Linked DNA regions of Homo sapiens: regions 1 and 2 are each linked to region 3. Evidence: promoter capture Hi-C in human tissues and cell types (Jung and others, 2019). All regions are on one chromosome and are shown on one strand. The core of a region is centred on a gene start or on the middle of the fragment in contact, and the rest is flanking DNA. Distances in the headings are between cores, read along the strand shown.

Region 1 (4,619 bases), core at 145-2,644, 130 kb after region 3:
ATGGGACAGACTCCACCCCAATGTCTTTGCCCTGAGTGTGGAAACCTGAAGGCTCAGGCAGCATTGAACACCCCATTACATCACCCAACTGACTAGTCCCGCTTGACGGAAAGTGAATCAAGACCGGGGAGGTCCTGGCCATTTGCCTCAAAATTTCCAGCAAAAGGTCATCTATCTGTAAGGGCTGGACCTCCAGATTCCTGCCCTGGGCTTCACCCGAGGGCCCCTCCCTCAGTGCTCCAAGTCAGCTCGGCCTGGCCAGCAGCCTCGCTCCCACCAACTCCACCTGCTTCATGCAGCAGCCGCACCTCCCTCTATGTGCCTGCTCTGTCACCATCGCATTGGGCTACACCCCATCACAGTGCCCGCTGCATTCTGCCTTGAGGCAGGGCTCTATCTGCATGACCCCCTCAGTTCCTAGGCTGGGAGCTCCTTGAGAGAAGCCCCTGGGTCCTATTTAGCTGTGCCCCCAATCTTAGCATGGAGCCTGCTGCAAGGCAGGTACTCATGTGAGACATGTTGGGTGGAAATAAACTGATCTCTCAGCCTTACTTGCGTCCAGTCCTACCTACCTCCACTGAGAAAGGTGGGAACTGAGCAGCCCTTCCTTTCAAAGGGAGTCAGGAGAAGACCACTACAGCCATCTGCTTCACCATCTGTCTTCATAGGGACTACCTATAGATGATGAGCTGGGCTGCTCACAGCTTGGGGCCAACAGGCTCCTGTTCCATCCCTTCTTGAGTCCATGAGCTCTCCTTCTCCATGGCTGGAGAACATGCTAGCCCTAGCCCATCGCCTGCCCATCTCAAAAGATAGAAATTGGTAAGGAGAGCCTGGCTGAATTGGGGCAAACCCATTCTACCTACAGTAACTGCAAAGGGCAGCAGGTTTACCAGGAAGCAAAGTGCCTCACAACTATTTTCATGGCACCCCAGGACCAGAAGCTTAGACAACGCCCAGCCTTCTCAGAGCAAACCATACCCCAGAGGCCCAGGGAGGCCCAGTGTAATGCACAATGCCCCACAATGATGCAGGAAAAGTCAGAAGCCACTCCAAGCAGCTAGGTCTCTACTGCTGGTCTCTTTGATTCCACAAGCTCACATAGCCCCTGCCAGCTACTCCCACGCAAAACAAGCAATACTACTGAAGAGCTTCTTCCTTCTTCCTCTATGGTTTCCATGGTGACAAGGGCAGTGTTTGGGCTCATGACAGTGGGAATGAAGAGTGGAAGCTCCAGGTCTTCCTTCCTCATCCCAAAAGACCAGGACAAAAATGGCCTGCTCTTACCTGCTAAGATGAAGATGCCCACAAGAATCAGGAAGACCAGCAGGTAGAGCCCCAGGACAGCATGCTTCAGGGCCGACAGGGACCCCAGCTGGGTACAGCAGATGCTTGCCCGCCGTTTGTGACATGGACCTGGACAATAAGGGTAAGAGGAGGAAGGAAAGAAGACACTTAAAAACCCCATAAGCTCTTTTCTTTTTTGGTCTCATCTCTCCCTGATGCATGCAGATGTTCATGTTGAACTTCTCACATCCCTTTTGCATGTCTAGAATGCAGCCACTTGATGGGGAGCTTTCCAGGACCATCACATTCAGCCTCTAGCTCTCCTCCCACTCTCTGTGTTCATGATCAAGCCAGATCACATGTCCACAGCTCACATGCTCACAAAAACCAACTCTTCTTGAGCTAGTCCAAGCAGCAGAAAGACCTTGAAATAGTCTTGGATATGTGGCTTTAAAAAGTGTCATTGTCCCATGGGATCCAGGGAACATAAAGAGAAATTAAAACAGGAGTTGCAAACTCAAACTTCTACAGTGGCTGGGAAGGTATGGGAATGAGAGAAATGGGCCCAGTGGGACTGTGGGGAGGCCAACGGCACGTGCCTGCTCTGGCAGAGGCTACTATGCAGGGATGAGTGGTGGGTGTGGCCAGATCCAGAATTTTCTACATCTATTTTTAAGGGTTGGCAACTAATTCATCAAACACAAAACACTGGGGAGTGTAAACAAAACACATCTGTAAGCCAGTTCTGACCAGCTTGCAACCTTGCATTTAGATTTGCTAGAAAACATGGTAACCTCATCCTGTGACACTCCTCAGCTTCTGCTCAAAATGGAACAGGGAAATATCCTTGCTGTAGTGGCCTTTTGGGCCATGTAATTCAACCCCTTTGTTGTACAGATAAAGAATGTCAAATGTCAGTTAGCAGCAAATCCGGCCCCAGGACCCAGGTTGATCTTTTAGCTGAACTGGTCCTTCAAGGTGGCCTTCTCAGATGGCCCATGAAGAGGCTTACTGATCTCCAGCTGCTCTGTTGACTGGAAGTGGAAAGAAGGGATCCTCTCCCTGATGTTAGCAGGGCATGTAGGAATCACTGGGTGGGGGCGGCGGGGGGACGGCATTTTTTTAAAAAATGCTTATCCCTTTAATGCTTGTTCCTTACCCCCTGTGGGTAAGACCCCTCTCCAGAAGGACTGTCCCCACTTCAAGAGTGTCACTAAGGCCAGGCACGGTGGCTCACACCTGTAATCCCAGCACTGTGGGAGGCCAAGGTGGGTGGATCACTTGAGGTCAGGAATTCGACACCAGCCTGGCCAATATGGTGAAACCCTGTCTCTACTAAAAATACAAAAATTAGCTGGGCGTGGTGTCGCGTGCTTGTAATCCCAGCTACTTGGGAGGCTGAGGCAGGACAATCACTTGAACCCAGGAAGCAGAGGTTGCAGTGAGCTGAGATCACGCCACTGCACTCCAGCCTGGGTGTCACAGTAAGACTGTCAAAGGAAAGGAAAGGAAAAAGGAAAGGAGAGGAGAGGAGTGTCACTAACTGGAGTGGGCAGAAAAAGGTTGTCAAGAGAGGCTAAAATAATTGATATTTAGAAAACATCCTGAAGGATAGTACCATGTTTGCAATTCCTTCATAGGTTCCCATTTGCAAGGATACCTCAAAGGTTACATATCGCCTCCCAGGTATCATTACTACCTCCTTGGCCTCAGGAGGTTTTATGACCACAAGGAAAATGGTGGTGACTATTGGTACCTTACGATCCACACTGCCCTGGTCCCCCAGAGGTATTGTTATATAAGGAACATTTTCTCACTCATTGACTTCATTTTATTACAAATACTGCTGTTAAACCAGCTAAACAGAGCTATTACATAATATTTCCATAAGACATTGGGTGCAGTGTCGAGCAAGTTGTCAATGACTATTCTCACTCATCCTTACATTAGCAAGTTTTGAAGAGTTGAGCTGATTTTCCGCTAAGACAAAATAGAGCACATCTTTCTAACTCACCCTAAACCTTTTCTGGGATTTTCCATCCTTTACCATACACTAGGCTCTACAAAGGGTTTTGCTCCTAAATATGTAGGCTCCTGGTAGCATTTCTTTTATTTTTTTCCTTCTGGTGAGAGCCACTAGCTGTCTGGTTGCAACTTACCAGAGAAAACTCTGTTCCTCTCAAGAGTCAGAGTAGGAGGTATAGCATTGAATAATATTATACAATTACTGGTTTCATTCTCATGGTGGTAGTTTCAGCTCTCCTGCTCTGAGCCCTGCTGTCTCCTTAGCCTCATGACAGAATAGGAGGAGGAAAATCACACAGCCGTGAACACAGTTAACTTCAAGTTTGCCTTTGTCATCTTCATATGTGTTGCTAGTTCACTGTAGGAGTGGGTCAATGTGCAATGATGTCTATTTTTTCCCCATTAAAAAGAATATTTCCCTTGCCCTCTACCTGAGGCTTCTATTTAATAGCAAGCACCTACTTGTGACAGGTGCCTTAGTCAACCAACACGCAGAACACAGACCTTCCTTTGAGAGAGTTTAGTTCTTTGAGCAAGACTTGGTTACTTTGTGCATTAAACCAAGTATATTTTAAATAGAACATAATGAGGGTTTCAAATAGAGGTTTCCCACAAATGGTTAGACAAGCAGAACATGAATGATCTGGCAAGGCCCTTAGAGAATGATTGCAAGGGAAAGAAGACAATTTAAGACAACGACAAGTCACAAAGGCTGCCCAAAACACATTTATGGACTTTTTTTTTCCAAGTGGCAGAAGCATGTTAGCTGGGTAAACCTTTCAAATTATTTAAACTTAGCAGAAGATTACAAACACTCCAAAATGATCCTATCAGCAAAGCCAGGGCAAAACGTATGCCTACTTTTTTGTTAAAAATAATTTTTTTAAAAATGCACTATCAAGCCATGACAAGACATGGAGGAATGTTAAATGAGTAATTAACTTGGTAAAATAAGCCAATCTAAAAAAGCTACATACCGTATGATTCTAACTATGTGATATTCTGGGAAAAACAAAACTATGGAGGCAGTAAAAAGATCCGTGGTTGCCAGGGATTGGGAGGGCAGGAGGGATGAACAGGCGGAGCACGGGGGATTTTCAGGGAAGTGAAACTCTTCTGTATGATACTGTAATGGTAGATGCATGCCCTTAGACATTTGGCCAAACCCACAGAATGTTCAACACCAAGAGTGAACCCTAATGTAAATGATGGGCTCTGGGAGATAATGATGTGTCAACATAGGTTCACTGATAGTAACAAATGCACCATTCTGGTGGGGATATTGACAGAGGGGGAGGCTGTGCATG
Region 2 (4,123 bases), core at 1,556-4,055, 200 kb after region 3:
CAAGGCCCACTAAAAACTACAACCACAGACCATCCATGCACTTCTCCCAGCACGGGGGGACACCAAGTCATACAGTGTTGTCCATCACATCTTCCCCTTAATGGGTGCTATGGACTAAAGTGTGACCCTTGAGGTTCACATGCGAAGCCCTAACCACCAGGGTGACTGTGTTTGGAGACACAGCTGGTAAGGAGGTAATTAAGGTTAAATGGGGTCATAAGGGTGGGGCCCTGATCTGACAGGTGTGGTGTCCTTCTGGGAAGAGAAAGAGATCCCAGGAGTGTGCGTGCTCAGTGAAGAGGCCACGTGAGGATGCAGCAAAAATGTGGCCATCTACCTTCTCCAGAAGAGGAGAGAGGCCTCAGAACTCACCCTGCTGACACCTTGATCTTGGACTTTCAGCCTTCAGAACTATGGGAAAATCGATGTCTGTGGTTCAGGCCACCCAGTCTATAGGATTTTGTTATGGCAGCCCAAGCAGACTAATACAATAGGCCTCTTTTTTCACCCCTTAGTCTTAGATAAATACTGCCTTACACTTACATTTTCATCCTTCAGAAACTCTATACAACTAATTAAGAAATAAAACCACAACTTGTATGCCAATTGAGAGGTTACAAGATGTTTCCTCATTGTGTAAGCTCATTGATACTGATATCAACACTACCAGATAGGTAGGGCAAGCATTGAGCATCCTCATTTTATAGTAGAAAACCAATAAATTTTTAAAAAATGGGTCTAGGGCTTTGCCCGGGGCTACAAGGTGGATGTTTGGTGGAGCTGGTACTCCAACCAAGACCCTCAGATCCCAGATTCCCACTCTGTCTTTGCTGAACTGTGTACCTTCCTTGGTCCTTTCAAGACACAGATGAACAACTGTTATGTGCAATTTTCACTCTCTCCTAACCTCCTCTGGCTCTTTTTTTTTGTTTTTTGTTTTTTGTTCTTGTTTTTTTTTTTGAGATGGAGTCTCACTCTCTCGCCAGGCTGGAGTGCAGTAGTGCAGTCTCGGCTCACTGCAATCTCCGCCTCCCTGGTTCAAGCAATTCTCCTGCCTCAGCCTCCTGAGCAGCTGGGATGACAGGCACACGCCACCACACCTGGCTAATTTTTGTATTTTTAGTAGAGACGGGGTTTCACCATGTTGGCCAGGATGGTCTTGATCTCCTGACCTTGTGATCCGCCCACCTCGGCCTCCCAAAGTGCTGGGATTACAGGCATGAGCCGCCATGCCCGGCCCGCTAACTCTTTACCTCTTTTGAAGGGAATGGGATGATGCAAAAGAAGCTTGGGGATCGGGCAGGCCTCCTGGAATATCTGAGTTTTCCCTGGAAGGGTCACTCACCACCAAGCATGCTCTGAGGATGCAGCGGTAAGAAGTCCTGGCGGTCCTGACCCCTTCTTGCAGAGGCTGCTCCATGCAGGCGAAGCACTGTGCGATGGCCTTCTCCAGCAGCTCAACCTTCTCTTCCGCAAATCTCCGCAGGACACTCATGTGCAAGTGTTCATTCTAGGGACAAGGACCATAAAAGAATCAGGCCACCCCCTCCCTAAGGGCACCTTCTCCTGAAGCTTTGCTTTCTTTAAGCTTGTCACCAGCTCAAGATTCAGCTTATCACTCAGAGCTGACTTCTCTTTATTGTCCCCATAAGACCTCACTCAGTGCACAGACCCCTTTAGGCTTTGTGGGGTTAGAGAATAGAACAAATACCTGCCTGGTGCAACTTATTTCATTTCTTAAAAATCACAGTCTCTGCTTATTCAGCAACTTATTTCAGCTGTGTAATCCATCAGGTTATTTGGGGAAGTAGCTATCCACATAGAAATCCAATTGTTATTAAAACAGATTTTTCCAATGACATCTGATTCAACAAACATTTCACGGGCTTGGACTCTGCACGAAGGAGTTTTTAAGGATAATGCTTCTTAAATTTTAACATGCATACAAATCAACAGGAGATCTTAAAATCTGAAATCCAAGGTCCTGGGATTCTGCATTTCTAGCCAGTCCTCAAGTAATGCTGGTCTTCCGAGCTATGGACCACACTTTGCATAGCAAAGCTACAGGACCACAAAAATAAATCCATGCTTCCTTCTTCAAAGAATACAGTCTAATCAGGGAGAAAACATATATTCAAATAATACAAGGAAGTGACCACCAGAGAAAGCCTTGACCCCTAGGTGCCTGATATGGTTTGCTGTGTACCCACCCAAATATCATTTTGAATTGTAGCTCCCATAATTCCACGTGTTGTGGGGGGGACCTGGTGGGAGATAATTGAATCATGGGATTGGCTTTCCCCATACTGTTCTCATGGTAGTGAATGAGTCTCATGAGATCTGATGGTTTTATAAGGAGAAACCTTATAAAACCTTATAAAACATGCCACCATGTAAGACATGCCTTTTGCCCACAATGATTGTGAGGCCTCCCCAGGCACATGGAACTGTGAGTCCATTAAACCTCATTTTCTCTATAAATTACCCAGTCTCGGGTATGTCTTTATCAGCAGCATGAAAATGGACTAATACAGTTCCAGACTGGGAACTCATAGTGTTGTTCCCCACATGGGAACCTTGGTGGGCCCCACAGTGCCTGCAGCAGTCAGAGCCACACTCCCCAGCTTGGCCTTTAAGGCACCTCATAGCCAGAACTCACTCCACCTCTCTAGCACCACCATCTCTGTTTGCCTGACACATCCTGCCAAGTAGCTACCCCTGGACTTGCTGCTATTCCCCAAACATGCTGTCAATCTTGTGCCCTCTGGGCCTTGCTGATTTCATCTTTGTTACTTCGGAGACAAAGCTCAAAGGTCCTTCCCATGAGGCACCTTCCCTGAGTCCCCAGGTAGAGGTGGGGCTCTCTGTCCTGTGCTCCCACTGCACTTCCCACAGTCCTGCACCACAGCACGTCTCCTGCCTCCTGCCGTATGACATCTCTCTCGTTCCCTGTGTCTTCTTCCCTGGATAGGAACTTGCCAAAGGAGCAGGCTCTTAGTCATGCTCTTTTATTCCAGGGCACAGCACAGAGAGCAAAACCCATAGACATTTGTGGATTGAACGAGTGGCCCAGAGAAACTGCGAGATAATTTGGGCTTTTAAATTCTATTTCAAATAGACAGAAATAGCTCTCGAATCGATGTGTGACCTGATACAGGTGATTTAACTTCTCTGATTCTCAACGGTATCATCTTTAAGTGAATTGGGTTGAATGATCTTGAAAACAACCTCACACTCTAAAATGCTGTGAATCTTGGAGTAAATACGTTTTAGAGTTTATGGAGACTGTTTAGCATTCGGTGCACCCCGGGAATTTCCCTCATTTTCACCATTAAGAATTCTACAAAGCATTTTTCCCAGGACATCCTTTAGATTCTTTTGAATTTGTGGTGTCACCAGTGATGAAAATGAAAGAAGAAAGAAGTCATGGAAAGAAAAGCTATGGGCATGATTCTCACAATGCCTCACTCTCGATAAATCCTTGTTGGATAAACAAAAGAATGATAAGAAAGGGAAGAGCGGAGAATAAAAGAACAATAAGAAACAAAGAAGCTGGCACTTAGTATGAATAAACGCAGACTTCATTTGACATTGAGATGTGGTCCTCAACTTCCTATGGATTCTTAAAAATAATGATTGCTCATTTAAAATCACTACTCAAACTCCAAATTTTTGGTTTCAGTGATCATCTTTGAAAAAAAATCAATCACACACATATTTAGATTTGATTTTTCAGAATTCAAAGGAACTGACAAATTCTTGCCTTCCAACTTTCTATCAAAGAGCTAAGAGTAAGACCAATACCTAAGGCCAAGGAATTTTGAGCAAAGTTGCCAGCAACTCCCTAACATAGCTATTGCAGAATTGCCAGTCAGCCCCCTTCTCCTCTATGTTTTCCACTGCTTGGAGTCTGGCTGCAAGGGTGAATCTGAGCCCCTCTGAGCTCTGCACTTCCATATTAGCAAAGAAAACACGTGGGGTGGGCACTTCTGGCCTTGATGGCAAAATGCCTTGTCCTAATGTTTGTAAAATACACCAACCTCACACAGCCCACATCGGATTCATTTTCCATCAGCACTTCCAAAAGCAATCTTGTGCTGGGCAAAGAGACAAATTTCACCCT
Region 3 (4,476 bases), core at 1,389-3,888:
GGGAAGAAAATCATCTCAAAGGCCCAGCTTTAACTATTAATGACAAGCTTGTTCATCTTGTTTAAAATGTAGCTACAATCACTATTGTCTTCAGATTTACCTGTCCTGAGAACACCGAAGAGCCCCTTTACATGTGTTTGTCAAGAGTATAATAATTTTATGAAGTGACCCATTTAACTTGACGGTAGGAACAGCAGAATTTCTGAAACCAGTTTCAGAACTTTGGGAAAGGATAAACTATTTAGCAGAGTGGGTTGCAGGAGGTATTTCTACTTCGGAAATAATTTCCCCATGTCATTCTGACTCCCCTTCTTCCATCTGTGTTATCTTTCCCCATGGGATGCTGTGATGTGGCACCTCAGAGATCTTCTAAGATTTTTTTTTTTTTTTGAGACAGAGTTTTGCTCTTGTTGCCCAGGCTGGGGTGCAATGGTGCAATCTCGGCTCACTGCAACCTCTGCCTCCCAGGTTCAAGCAATTCTCCTGCCTCAGCCTCCCAAGTAGCTGGGATTATAGGCATGTGCCACCATGCCCGGCTAATTTTTTGTATTTAGTAGAGATGGGGTTTCACCATATTGGTCAGGCTGGCCTCAAACGTGACCTTAGGTGATCCACCCGCCTTGGCCTCCCAGAGTGCTGGGATTACAGGCGTGAGCCACCACATCCAGCTTCTTCTAAGATTTCTATCTACCTATGTGAAGCTACTCTTCATTCACTCAGTCAATATGCACACACTGAGCACATACAATGTGCTCTAACAGTGCACTGTTCGAGCACATACCATGTGCTCTAACAGTGCACTGTTCTACACTCTGGAAATAGAGCAGCAAACAAGACCCAAACAAGTATGAAGATAAACATATACTATTTCAGGGGAAATATATATCAGTGAAGGGAGCAGAAGGCCTTGGGAAGGGGCTTAATATTTGAGTTTAAAGTGGTCAAGAAAGGTCTCCTTGAGAAACTCATTTGAAGGAAGTGAGGGAGCAGGCCCAAGCAAGTATCTAGTGAAAGTCTTCCAGAGAGAGGACAAGAAATACAAAGACCTGAGGCAGAAATCTTCACGAAGAGGCGAGCTAGCAAGGGGGAGAATGAGACAAAGTCAGGGAGGCTGAGGGTAGGGACTGGCAAGTCAAGTAGAGCATTGTAGCCACAGGACTGTGACTTCTACTCAACTGTAGTCACAGTCAAGATTTCAGCTTGTACTGAGAAACAGAAAGCTGTTGGAGAGTTTTGTGGAGGAGTCAAATAGGTGGGTGGATACGGATCTAGAATGCAAGCTGAAGATTTAAGTTTGTGGGATGGCAGCACGCAGACGTTATTAAAGCCAAGAGACTAGGTAAGATCATCTAGGGAGTAACTGTAGAGAGAAGAGGGGTGAGCCCTAGGGCATCCAAGCATGAGAAATGAAAAACAAAGCAACCAAGGAGGTGCCAACAAAGTAGGATGCAGAAAACCCTGGCGCGTAGAGTGTCCTGGAAATCTTATGATGAGCCTTATGAGTCTCACTGCCTTTTCCCGCTCACTCTACGGAGGATTTGATATTCAGAAGCAGCACGTTTTAAAAAAGAAAACCTATCTCTAAAAACAACTAGGTTTAAACAGAAGTCGTAACATTTCATTATGTTCTCTTACGACTGAGTCCCACCTTCTACTCTAAGCTATTTGCACCTCAATGTACCATGTCCTATCCATTTCACAGTTGTCTGAGGGCCACTTTTTTCCAGACTGCACACTCAGGTTTAGGCATTAACTGCTGACAGATAGCTTTTGGCCAGTAGCCCAGACTCTGCTTCAGATTATGTTATGTATTGTATATGCATTCTTAACATTAATTGTTAAATAACCATACTAATTCTAAATCACAAGGTTCTCATGAAGATGACAGCAAAAAAAACAGTGAATATTTAGATGAAGATAAATTAGAAATGGCAGTAGGATGACCGTGAGCAGAATTTCATACTCTGTGGAATACGTAAGATATTTTTAACAATCAAGTACTGTTTAAGAGGCAGCATTAAAGTGAGCAGCGCTCAAGCAAGCTAATCTACAGATTTACCGGGTCAAACGTCAGTGACCTTTGGGCCCTAAGCCTGGGACCCTGGGACTCAACAAATACCTGGACACTACTGACAAAGCTACGACGCGGACGGGCAGCAGAAAACGGAAAATTAAAAGAATGAGAGAAAAAGTAAAGGAGAAAAGAGAAACAAAGTAGATGTAGAAACTCCAAGGGGAAGCAAAGAGAAAGTGTGGGCCGCATGACTCTCAGGTCCTCTGCATCTCACACGCTCAGCAGGGTTCGGGGGTGGAGGTCAGACTGTTTACCCCAATCCAGGGGCTCACAAGGGGCTGGCTGCCAAAATCCTTCTTTGGCTGTAACCAGATCCTCCCCTGTCACGAAAGCCCCCGCAGAGGCCTCGGCTCCGGGCTCGGCCCCCGCCAGGGCTCGCAAAAAAAAAGCTCCTCTTACCAGAGTCTCACCGCCTGGAAGGAAAGGTCGGAGGTGAAAATAAGTCGTGGCCAAGTACCTCTTCAAAATTGGTCCCGAGCGGCCCCCAGCGAGACCCTGCAGCTGCCTCTAGCACCAACACATACGCCCGGCAGCTGCCGTTGCAATTCGAACCCTCCTGGCTTTCAAAAAGTCGCGCGCTGCGCCAGCTTCGGCCCCGAGCTACGGGGCGGCGTGAAGGACACGCCCCGCCGATTCGCCGTTCCTCCTCCCTCTCCCAGGACTCCCGGTGCCCGCAGGCGCCAAAGACGAGGGAAGGAAGGAAAGGCGCGGGGAGCACAAACTTTTACAGGAACCACCAGCCCTTCCGAGGAGCACAGCCCGGTGAATAGAACACAGTTGCCTGTGCTGAAGGCTGAAGCTCTCTCCAAACGCTCACATCTGTGTTGAATGTGTCGTGATTATGACGTCAATTTTATTATAGGTTTATGAGGCCTTGAAACACTGTAAAGACAAATGCGTAGCTTAAGGAACAATCATCTTTAGCCGAGGGAAAAAAAAGATATTTAGAAATGTTGCTAACTCATGTAATTGCCACATTCAATTCAACATTCTTTAATTTATTCAACGATTATTTAGGAACATCTGCTCCCCAGGAGGGGATGGGCCGTGGGGCAGACCAGGGGCCCAGAGCTCAGGGCAGGGGGTACCGCTTGTGGGGCCGCTCATTTCTGTTTCGAGGTACACCAAGGGTTAGAAAAACCACAGTAAGCAAAGAACTTGCATCAAGATCGGGACTGGAATCCATTAATGTAGGTGACAAAGCCCCGCAACTCTGATCAGGGCTTCTCCCCAGGAAGATGTGCCCTGAGGCATCCCCCGAGGATGGCGCAGGTCCTGAGGGTCGTGGGGATCAAAGAATATGAGCCAAGACGTATAAATCACATGTTGGAGTTTGCCTTCCCCTATGTGACCACAGTTCTGGATGATGCAAAAATTTACTCAAGCCATGCTAAGAAAGCTACTGGTGTGCAATTGCAATCCAGTGTGCGCCGACCAGTTTTTTTTTACCTCTCCGCCCCAAGAGATTTTTATTAGATATTGCAAGGCAAAGAAATCAAACCCCTTCGCCTTTGATCAAGCCGTATTCAAGTCCTAGAATGCCACCCAATAGATATTGCTTAACAGCTCCAAACTATATGTTGCAGGGAAAACCCCAAAACTAGGGTACAGCCACAGAGGCCACCTGGCTTGGAGCAGGAAGGAATTCGAGAGCAGCCCCATAGAGTAAAATGAGAGCAAGTTTATTAAGAAAGTAAAGGAATAAGAGTGGCTACTCCACAGGCAGAGCAGCCTGGAGGGCTGCAGATGGGCTATTTTTACCGTTATTTCTTGATCATATGCTAGATAGAGGATGGATTATTCATGAGTTTTACAAGAAGGCCCTGGGGATTTTCTGGAACTGAGGGTTCCTCCTCCTTTTAGACCATGTAGGGTAATAAGTTCCCCGGGTTGCCATAGCATTTGTAAACCGTCATGGCACTCAGGGGGAGTGTCTTTCGGCAGCTAAATCATTATAATTAGCCTGTAATGAGCAGTGAGGATGACCAGAGGTCATCCACTAGTGGATTTCAGTCTCAATCTTGATCCGGGTTCTTTGCCTGGAGTGGTTTTTCCAACCCTGGTGTGCCAGGAAAGGGAACGCTGAGTGGCCCCCTATGGGGTGCCCTCTTGGTTTTGGTGGGTTTGGGCCACCCTCTTTACTGCATCTGTTTTATCAGTGGGGGTCTTTGTGACCTCTATCTTGTGAAATCAGTCCTGCCAAACTTCTGTCTCATACATACAGGCTTAAGTCTTTACAGAAAAAGGCATCTACGTCTGAGGGAAGAATAACAGTCCCCATGATATCAGTGGGCCAGGGGAGGTCCTCAAATGCCGGTGGGTCCTGGACCCCCGCAGGTGTCCAGACTCTTGACACCGTCTTGAGAATGGATTCAAGGATGAGTTGGAAAATAGTGAAAGTA

Evidence for each region. The method cuts DNA at HindIII sites, captures the fragments that hold promoters and counts their contacts. A contact is called where the count stands out against the background at its distance.
Region 1: a contact is called between a fragment that was not itself captured here and the fragment with the promoter of PBK in region 3, in 2 of the 25 tissues and cell types used here (dorsolateral prefrontal cortex and mesenchymal stem cells).
Region 2: a contact is called between a fragment that was not itself captured here and the fragment with the promoter of PBK in region 3, in 2 of the 25 tissues and cell types used here (H1 embryonic stem cells and thymus).

Annotation. Positions count from the first base shown.
Region 1 is chr8:27,965,127-27,969,745 of GRCh38, forward strand. It overlaps SCARA5 (scavenger receptor class A member 5), which reads right to left. Exons shown (of 9, transcript NM_173833.6): 3 at 1,288-1,416. Among named protein-coding and RNA genes, the nearest start is that of SCARA5, 25 kb to the right of the region's middle. The HindIII fragment of the contact is 8,201 bases long and covers 1-4,619 here.
Region 2 is chr8:28,039,706-28,043,828 of GRCh38, forward strand. It overlaps NUGGC (nuclear GTPase, germinal center associated), which reads right to left. Exons shown (of 19, transcript NM_001010906.2): 13 at 1,346-1,510. Among named protein-coding and RNA genes, the nearest start is that of NUGGC, 42 kb to the right of the region's middle. The HindIII fragment of the contact is 4,477 bases long and covers 568-4,123 here.
Region 3 is chr8:27,835,179-27,839,654 of GRCh38, forward strand. It overlaps PBK (PDZ binding kinase), which reads right to left and starts at 2,639. Exons shown (of 8, transcript NM_018492.4): 1 at 2,474-2,639. It also overlaps the pseudogene LOC100130612. RefSeq lists enhancers at 2,749-2,808, 2,879-2,928. The HindIII fragment of the contact is 7,721 bases long and covers 1-4,476 here.